2 separate regions of the Homo sapiens genome follow, and region 1 is linked to region 2. The links are contacts of gene promoters, found by promoter capture Hi-C in human tissues and cell types (Jung and others, 2019). All regions are on one chromosome and are shown on one strand. The core of a region is centred on a gene start or on the middle of the fragment in contact, and the rest is flanking DNA. Distances in the headings are between cores, read along the strand shown. Region 1 overlaps PTCSC2 (papillary thyroid carcinoma susceptibility candidate 2). Region 2 holds the start of NANS (N-acetylneuraminate synthase).

Region 1 (4,548 bases), core at 2,000-4,499, 330 kb after region 2:
ACCCACCTCGGCCTCCCAAAGTGCTGTGATTACAGGCTTGAGGCACTGCGCCCGGCTGAGCTTGACATTTTATGAAGCCCTTTTGATATATCGTTTATCCTCACCATAACATGATAGGTAGGGACAGCCTTCCCATTTTATGGATGAGGATGATCAGTCCCAAAGAGATTGTGTGTCTTGCACAAGATCCCTCAGCTCGTCTGTGGCAGGACCAGCCATCAAACTGGGACTCAAGACCATTGCTCCCTGGCTACATGTGAGGTCTGCATGGCTTCAGCTTCTGTGTGTCTGGCTCCTTCACATGTTTGCTCATGTTCAAGATGCAGGATGTGGGGAAATTGCCTTTAAATACAATAAAAGAGAAACAAGCCGATGAGCTCACAAGGTTTTTTGTTAGGGATGGTACCTGTTTATCTAACTTAAATCACTAATACTGCCGTTGCAGCCAGGAGATGGGCCACCCTGTATCTGAGACATAGGTGTCTCTCTGTGGAGTTCATAAGGTCATAATTTAATTCACCTTGATCCCTGATGCTGGACAAATTCAAGAGGACAGGGGTGATTATAGGGAAGGGGACATTAATGTCAACCTGGGGACACCCATGAGGGCTTTGGATTTCTGAGGGCAGATGGGGTGTGTAGGATTTTGTGGTACATGAAAGATTTCCTATGGGTGGTCCTCCATAGATAAGGCATTAGCTCATGTAGTGAGACAGTAGGGCACAGAAAAGGGCACATGGGATTTGGAGTCAGATACACCAGGGCTGGAATCCTGACTCTGCCACCTGAGTGACCCTGATAGGTCACTCAACCTCTCTGGGCCGTCTCCAGAGAGGCCTGTCCTATGTGTCTCTTGTTCTCATTTCTCGTGTTCTGAACGTCCAGCCTGGAAGGAATTAGTCCTTCTTTGAGCTGATATTGTCAGTGCATATCCATTTAGATTCCTTTACCATTGGGGGCCTACCTGTGGCCAGCATCTGCATCTCTTTGTCAGAGGATAGAGTCCAGGGCTGCTGGCGACTGTTCTGTCCGCACACAGGAGAGCTGGAAGTACCTGGGAGATTACCCACCCCCACCCACTCTTTTTCTAGTAATTGATGGGTGCTGAGGCATAAGTACTCTAGCCCCCAGCCCCTGACCAGGACGACTCACGGGTGTGACCCTCACCAGAGCTCCCTGGTGGGATTAAGCCAAAGTTCTCCTCCGAGTGCCTTGTGTGATACGGTGCCCCACTGCCTTACCATTTTTTCTGGGAGCACTTCCTAATACATCACTTTCACATGAATCTTCCTCCAGGGTTTCTTCTGGGGACCCCAATTAAGATGCAGCCATGGAGAGGTAGTTGCCCAGGCTGCAACACAGAACCCAAATGGGCTTACTCAGACTGCCAAAGGGCTTCACCATCCAAATGCGTAGGTCCTCCAAATTGGCTGCTTTTTTAAAAAAGAAACTGTTAAAACGTTTCAATAAAGCAGCCATTTTTAAAAAAGCTCTTTTATAAAACCATTTACTTTTGTAGCATTTTAAAGGAGTTTTCATATACATGGTTTCATTTGAGTCTCATTACATTGCTAATATAGCAAGAAGTTATTATCCTCTTTTTCAGGTGAGGAAGTTAAGACCCAAATTGATGAAGTGATTAGACAAAGTAACCCAAGAGGTACACCATAGAATAAGATATAGAAACCCACATTTTCCAACCCTGGTTCAGCCATAGGACTGATAGTTTTTGATAGTGTGACTGATGATCGTGAAGAGGTGTTTTCAGGCATCTTTATTGGTGTTTTGGACATATTTATTTATCCTGTTGTAATGTCTCAGAGCTCGTCCACTCCATTATTCTTAAAAAGGAAAAACCTTTTATGTAATTTTTCTCATTATAAAACTAATACATTCTCATTACATAAAATTTTGAATATACAGAAAAAAAGAACAATATGAAAAAAACTTTTCATAATTCCAAGAGTTTCTTTTAGTCTTTTATTATGGTCCTTTCTTTTTTCTGTGCAGTTATTTCTTTCTGTGTTATATGCTCAAAATAATTTGCACTTAATTATACCTATAATTGCCAATGCACAACCATCTTTGTTGATCTGTGAGGGCCCCTTTTTTTGTTCTAATCACACACTTTTCCTTTACAAAATAAGCATTAAATACCTTGTGCTGGAAAGTAAGGCAGTGCTCAAAAAAGTGATGGGGACCTGTCAAAAGGACAAGGAAATCAACTTGAAGAGGCTTCCACTGGCCAAATCTAGGACAATTTGAGCATCAACATAATTAAGAAAATAAAGAAAATAAACCATTGAAAAATAGGAATCTATGAGTCTGTGCAAGAATAAATAGATCAATAATAAGTAGATAAGAAACAGGAGAGAGGAGAGGGCTCCTGCTTACAGTAAAATGCCAACCATTAAATGTGAAGATGGTGCTAAAGTTGGAAGATCATCATTTTCCAACTATCATGGAAAACATTGATTTGAATAAGAATCTTCAAAGGGTGTGACACCTTAGGGGGACATTTTTTATTTATAGAAAAGTTACAGAGGTAATGCAGAAAATTCCCATATATCATCACAAAGTATTCCCTAATGTTAACCTGTTTTTGTTTTTGTTTTTGAGACAGGATCTCTCTCTGCCACCCAGGCTGGAGTGCAGTGGCACAATCATGGCTCACTGCAGCCTCAAACTCCTGCGCTCAAGTGATCCTCCCACATCAGCCTCCCAAGTAGCTGGGACTCCAGGTACGCACCACCATGCCTGGATAATTTTTTAAATTTTTTGTAGAGACGGGTCTCACTATATTCACTAGGCTGGTCTCAAACTCCTGGCTTCAAACTATCCTCCCACCTCAGCCTCTCAAACTGTTGGGATCACAGGCATGAGCCGCCACACCCAGCCCAGAATCCTTCTTGCCCCAACTCCTCCATGAAGCTTTCTTGATTATTTCCCTCCTATCAGAATTTTTCTGTTTCTGTTTTACATTACCTTGACTACGTTACATGCACCTCTACTTAGCACCTGCCTCATTGCACCTTGTTTTTGAATTAAGAGGTGATATGTCTGTCTTCCCCTCTTACAGAAGGGAAGAATGAAATCTAATCCCTCCACCTGGCAGAGTGCAGAGTGTACCTACTCTATGGGTAGGTTCTCAATGACTACTGCTGAAGGAATTCAAACTGAAATGGAAGAAGTTTTCTCATGGATCAAAAGTCTTAGCTGAAGACTTCATGTTTTCCATTAACTGCAGTCACTCACATCTATTTAAGCTTCTGCTATCAAAAATGGAAAAGCAGCCAGTGACTTCTGCTTTAACCGAGGCTGTCTTGTATTTTTTGTAAACTTTTTTCTATTTTTAAATTTTTATCTAGAGAAAGGGTCTTGCTCTGTCATCCAGGCTGGAGTGCAGTGGCACGATTGTAGCTCATTAACTTCAAACTCATGGGCTCTAACAATCCTCCTGCCCTAGCCTCTCAAGTAGCTCAGACTACAAGTGCAAGCCCAGCTAATTTTTAAGATTTTTTGTAGAGATGGGGTCTCGTTATGTTGCTATGTAGCTGGTCTCAAACTCCTGGCCTCAAGCAGTCCTCCTGCTGCCACCTCTCAAAATGTTGGGATTACAGGCAGGGCGCAGTGGCTCATGCCTGTAATCCCAGCACTTTGGGAGGCGGAGGCAGGTAGATCATTTGAGGTCAGGAGTTCAAGACCAGCCTGGCCAACATGGTGAAACCCAGTCTCTACTAAAAATACAAAAATTAGCCAGGTGTGGTGATGCGTGCCTGTAATCCCAGCTACTCGGGAGGCTGAGGCAGGAGAATTGCTTCAGCCCAGGAGGCGGACACTGCAGTGAACCAAGATGGCACCACTGAATCCCAGCCTGTGCAACAGAGTGAGACTCTGTCTCAAAAAAAAAAAAAAAGTGTTGGGACTACAGGCATGAGCACCTGCACCTGGCCAGTCCTTTTAAATACTGTACTAAAGGGAAGATGCTGATTTGGGTTGCAATACGCTTTCACACTCTGCCATCTGTGTGGGGATGCACTGTGGAGTGATGCAAAGAACTGGCCTCCACATTTGGAGAGCACGTCTGAGGGGCCAGGAGACCTCTCCATGCCTCTCATTTCATTCTAGACCATTTAATCTGCTGCAAGTGAAAACTGATTGACTCCTTTACATTCTAACTAGGTTTTATTATTTTTTGTGAATTTTTTTGTGTCTCTAGGTATGAGAGAACAGAAATAGAGATTTGGGTGGCTTTAGCTGTTTAAAATAAGGTGACCAAACCTCCTTTCTGCCTGTTCCTGCTATTTCAAACACCACTGTTCTCCACACAATGAAAATGGCCTTGTTCCTTAAGGTAGTGTACTCTTTCATTTTATTTTTAATGATAGGAAAGAAGAAAGAAGACATTTTATTTTGGATTGTGGTATTCATTGATTGGAAACCTCCCAGGTTGTTTTCTAGTTCCATACAACTTGGAAAGAAAAAAGTACAAGTCAGGGAGACAAATATTTGAGAGTGATGTGTACATTTCAAGAATGTTTACCCAAT
Region 2 (5,104 bases), core at 2,530-5,029:
TTTTAGTAAAGACAAGGTTTCGCCACATTGGCCAGGCTGGTCTTGAACTCCTGACCTCAGGTGATCCAAACGCCTTGGCCTCCCAAAGTGCTGGGATTACAGGCATGAGTCACTGCGCCCAGCCGACATCACCATCTTTAAAAACAACATAGACTGACAGAGACCTTAAGGACCTCCAAGGAAGAGGAACAGAAAAGGCAAGAAAGTCTGAAAGGAAGAAAAGGTTGTTTGGAGATGGGAGACCTCCCCCTATTTTTTTCTCTTAACATGCCAAAAGAAAAAAAAATGGGACTTTTTTCCTTTGTTTTGCATTGTAAATATTAAAAACATTGGATCAAAGAGTTAAGGAAGATTTTAAGTTATATAACTGAGCAAAGAATAGTCAACTCAGCACTGGACCAGAATTTAGTAAAGAAAAATTCTGGTTTAACTTTGACCCTAACTCTTAGATAAGTCACTTCCCAGCTCTGGACTCAGTTTCTCCATCGATATAAAAGCAGTTTGGGCTACCTCCAGGATGTGTAAACTGTCCTAATGAGGCCCTCTCAGGGACAGGAACATCCAGGGACAGTGCCCTATGCCTCTTTCTCTGATTTCAACAATAGCAACTCTGCTTTTAGCTGCTTTGCACTGGCGCTTTTCTCCATGACATTTTCTTTGAACAGGTTACATGTTAAAAAGCAGACAAACAAAACAAAAATGCCCCAGCCCCTAGATGACTTCTACTGAGCAGAGGCAATAATATAAAAGCCGGATTGTTTGACTATAAAAAAAAAAAAACAAAAAACACTCAAGAGGTCAGGCACAGTGGCCCATGCCTATAATCCAAACACTTTGAGAGGCCAAGGTGGGAGGATTGCTTGAACCAAGGAGTTCAAGACCAGCCTCGGCAACATAGTAAGACCCTGTCTCTACAAAAAATATAAAAATTAGCCAGGCATGGTGGCATACGCTTGTAGTCCCAGCTACTCAGGAGGCTGAGGGGGGAGGATCGCTTGATCCCCAGAGGTTGAGGTGGCAATGAGCTATGATGGTGCCACTGCACTCCAGCCTGAGCAACAGAGTGAGACCTTGACTCAAACAAAAACAATCTACTCAAGAAAAAGAGTAATTAAAACCCACTAAAGTCCCATCTCACGGCCATTTCTGTAGACACAGAGGTATTCATGCTATTAAAAACTTCTTGGCTGCCGGGCGCAGTGGCTCACACCTGTAATCCCAGCACTCTGGGAGGCCGAGGTGGGCAGATCACGAGGTCAGGAGATCGAGACCATCCTGGCTAACATGGTGAAACCCCGTCTCTACTAAAAATACAAAAAATTAGCTAGGTGTGGTGGTGGGCACCTGTAATCCCAGCTACTCGGGAGGCTGAGACAGGAGAACGGTGTGAACCCAGGAGGCGGAGCTTGCAGTAAGCCGAGATCACGCCACTGCACTCCAGCCTGGGTGACACAGCGAGACTCCGTCTTGAAAAAAAAAAATAAAAACTTCTTGGGTCCAGAAATGTCAGTGCTGAGATCACTACTCCTGCTCTTAGACAAATCATAAGATGGTAGAGTCAGGACTTGATGCTGGAAAGTTCAAAGAACATTAGAACTGAAAGTGACCTTGGGCAACAGAGCTCTCATTGTCTAGATGAAGATCCCAAGGCCCAGACTGACCTGACTAAAGTTGCACAGTGTCTCTAGCAGAGCTGGCCAGATCCCTTTCCTAAAGGCTGCAGCCACCTAGATTCCAGCTCAATGGAATTAGAGACAGGGTCTCGCTATGTGGCCCAGGCTGGTCTCGAATTCCTGAGCTCAAGCAATCTGCCTTCCTCAGCCTCCCAAAGTGATGGGATTACAGGAATCAGCCACTGCACCTGGTCAGTACAGCTTTGTTTCTATGGCTTCAGTATCTCTAGATATTTCTACAACTTCGGCATTCCAAGAGGAAAAACAGACTGCTCCTTCAAATTAAGAGTGGGAATTTCCCTCTAGAAAACAATGTTGCAGAAGAAAGGCTGGAGTCCTGTGGCTTAGGAGCAAAAACTGAAAAAACCCCTTACTGTATTTATTATACTAGCTATGTGACCTTGCCTAAGTCACTTATTTTCTCTTAGCCTTTAAAATGAAATCGGCAGCATCATGGCATTGGGTTGTTGTAAAAATTAAATGAGATGGTGCATGTACAGCATTTAGCTTAGTACCTGGTAGAGTAAGCACTCAAAAAATGTTAGCAATGTTATTTTTGTAAAGTATTTTTATGATTCAGTGATTAGGTTTCCATAAAACCAGTCCCGAAGGAACAGCAAGGGCCGAGGGTGGTGGCTCACACCTGTAATCCCAGCACTTTCGGAGGCCAAGGTGGGCAGATTGCTTGAGCTCAGGAGTTCGAGACCAGCCTGGGTAACATGGCCAAACCCCATCTCTACAAAAAAATTAGCCCAGCATGGTGGTTCACGCCTGTGGGTCCCAGCTACTCGGGAGGCTGAGGTGGGAGAATCACTTAAGCCTGGGAGGCAGAGGTTGCAGTGAGCCGGGATCATGCCACTGCACTCCAGCCTGGGTGATACAGAGACCCTGTCTCAAAAAAAAAAAAAAAAAAAACCAGGAAAAAAAAAAAAAAACAGTAAGAGAAAACCTCCAGCCTGGGTGACAGAGCAAGACCCTGTCTCTAACATAGATAAATAAATAAATAAACATTTAAAAAACCTATCACAAATGATACAAAATCAGTTGAGTAGCATTGATGAAGGGAAAGGAAAGATGGGGTGAGCTATCTCTAAACCAAAGAATCATAGTGCAGGCCAGGCCTTATGCTGGGGGCTGGGGTCGTAATGAAGAATATGGCAGTCCCAACAGAAGAGGGAGCACGCATTTACCGACTCATGTGTGCCAAGTGCTGGGCTCAGAGCTCTATCTGAGAATCTCATTTGATCCCCATAACAACTCCATGTGGAAAGAACTGTTGTTTTCAAGCCCCGTTTTCAAATGGGGAAAAGGGTTCACGGAGGCTAAGTAAGCAGCCCATGTTCACACAGCTAGTAGTGGTGGAACTGAGATTTGAACTCAAAGGCCCGGCTTTTAACCACTTCATATTTCATATACAGGGAATGGCGGGTGAGAGAGACCACAGCAACTTCCAGGAACTGTCATTCCTGAAAGTAACTCTGTGTCGCTGAAGAATGTCAGAGAAGAATTATGACGGGCTGGAAGGGGCCCAGTCATTAAAATCTTGAAGGCTATGTTAAAGGGTTTCGACTCTACCCGCGGGCAGGAGGGAGCCACAGAAGGTGCCAGGCAGGGGGGATGGTCTGATCAAGTCTGACTTTTAGAAAGATTATTCTGGCACCAGAACGGGGAGGAAACAGGTCGGGTTAGGAGGCAGCTGCTGTAATGCAGAAAGGTCACGAGGGTGGCGGACACGGTGAGGAAGAGGGATCCGAAGGATTCCGAAAACGGAACTGGCGGGCGGGAAGAGGCCGGACCAGGGTACCCAGCCGCGGAGGCCGTGTGGCCCTGGCTCCCCGCGGCCCCGCCCCGCCCCTCCCGGCGCCCGAATCCCGGGTCCCGGGAGCTGCCGCCTCACCTTGGCCATGCGGATCATGCGCTTGGCTACGTCCAGGTCGCCCTGGTGGTTCTGGCCGATCTCGGCAATGATGAAGCACGGGTGTTGCCCGCCCACCCAGCGCCCGGGACACAGCTCCAGCTCCAGCGGCATTGCAGCGGCTCGGGGTCCAAAGCCTCACTACCAGTCTGGGTCCGGCCGCCGCCGCCGCCGCCTCTACTCTGTTCTGTGAGCAACGCTGCGAGACCCACACGCCAGCCCCGCCACGTCAGCCCGCGGTCGCCGGGCAGCCAATCCCCTAGGCCCCGCCTCTCTCCCGACAGCCAATCGGGGCGGGGGGCGGGGGCGGGGCCTCCCGCGGGAAGGGCGGCGGGGCGGGTCGAGGAAGCTCCGCGGCCCTCTCCTGTGCGAGGCTTGAGGCTTGCTGTCCCAGAGCGTGGTCTCGGACCATCGCGGTATCCGTGCGTGCACCCAGGAGCAAGCATTCCCTGCAGGAGGCGGACGGCTGCCTGCGCAGGGCATAGTCTATGTCCTGCTCTCAGGAGCATGGGGAGAGCGCGCCCTATGGTGTAATGGAAAAAACAGGGTTGCTAGAGTTAGAATCACAGAGCTGGATCGAGTCCAGCCTATGCCAGTCACCAGCTCCTGCTCATATATACGTTACTCAGTCTTCCGGAGCGTTATTTTTGTTTCTCTCTGAAGCAAAAAAATAAAATAGAACTGTGAGATGACGTATAGAAACCCCTGATCACAATACTTGGCTTGTAGTAAGTTTTCAAGAAGTGGCGGAGGTTCCTATTATATGAGAGGCAACAGGTTCGAGAAGTTGCACTGGCTTGTCCAAAGCCATCCAGAAAGCCAAAGCAGAGATGGGACTAGTACCCGGACCTCCCAGCCCCAGGCTCTTAAAATACAATCACCTGGGCGGGCGCGGTGGCTCACACCTGTAATCCCAGCACTTTGGGAGGCCAAGGCAGGCAGATCACCTGAGGTCAGGAGTTCGAGACCAGCCTGACCAATATGGAGAAACCCCGTCTCTACTAAAAATACAAAAAAATTAGCCGGGCGTGGTGGTGCGTGCCTGTAATCCCAGCTACTCGAGAGGCTGAGGCAGGAGAATCGCTTGAACCCGGGAGGTGGAGGTTGCAGTGAGCCCAGATCACACCACTGCACTCCAGCCTGGTGACACTGCAAGACTCTGTCTCAAAAATAAATAAATTAATTAATTAATTTAAAAAATAAGATAAGTTATTTCCCAAAATAAACCTCCTTCTTTCCTGGGAACTAGACTGCCTTTGTAGGACTAACAAATTAGCCACAAGATTAGACACGTAGGAGTCATGCACCTGGAGGCTACAAGATTCTGACCCTCCCCAAATTGCTCCTGGGGATAACATCACTATTGTAAAACCTAAGACCAGTGCTTGAGATATTTTGCAGACCCTGCACTTGATGGATCAGCTGGCACCACCAGATTGATAAACTGGTTCATCTGATCTTGTGTCCCCCAACCAGGAACTGACTTGGCACAAGAAGACAGCCTTGACTTTCTATG

The links. The method cuts DNA at HindIII sites, captures the fragments that hold promoters and counts their contacts. A contact is called where the count stands out against the background at its distance.
Region 1: a contact is called between a fragment that was not itself captured here and the fragment with the promoter of NANS in region 2, in 1 of the 25 tissues and cell types used here (pancreas).

What each region holds. Positions count from the first base shown.
Region 1 is chr9:97,722,606-97,727,153 of GRCh38, reverse strand. It overlaps PTCSC2 (papillary thyroid carcinoma susceptibility candidate 2), which reads left to right. Exons shown (of 11, transcript NR_147055.1): 6 at 2,624-2,741; 7 at 4,220-4,354. Among named protein-coding and RNA genes, the nearest start is that of XPA, 28 kb to the right of the region's middle. The HindIII fragment of the contact is 4,075 bases long and covers 1,212-4,548 here.
Region 2 is chr9:98,055,407-98,060,510 of GRCh38, reverse strand. It overlaps NANS (N-acetylneuraminate synthase), which reads right to left and starts at 3,779. Exons shown (of 6, transcript NM_018946.4): 1 at 3,571-3,779. The coding sequence starts at 3,702. It also overlaps a transcript of TRIM14 not described here. RefSeq lists enhancers at 3,061-3,180, 4,221-4,270 and silencers at 3,431-3,600, 3,681-4,030. The HindIII fragment of the contact is 24,529 bases long and covers 1-5,104 here.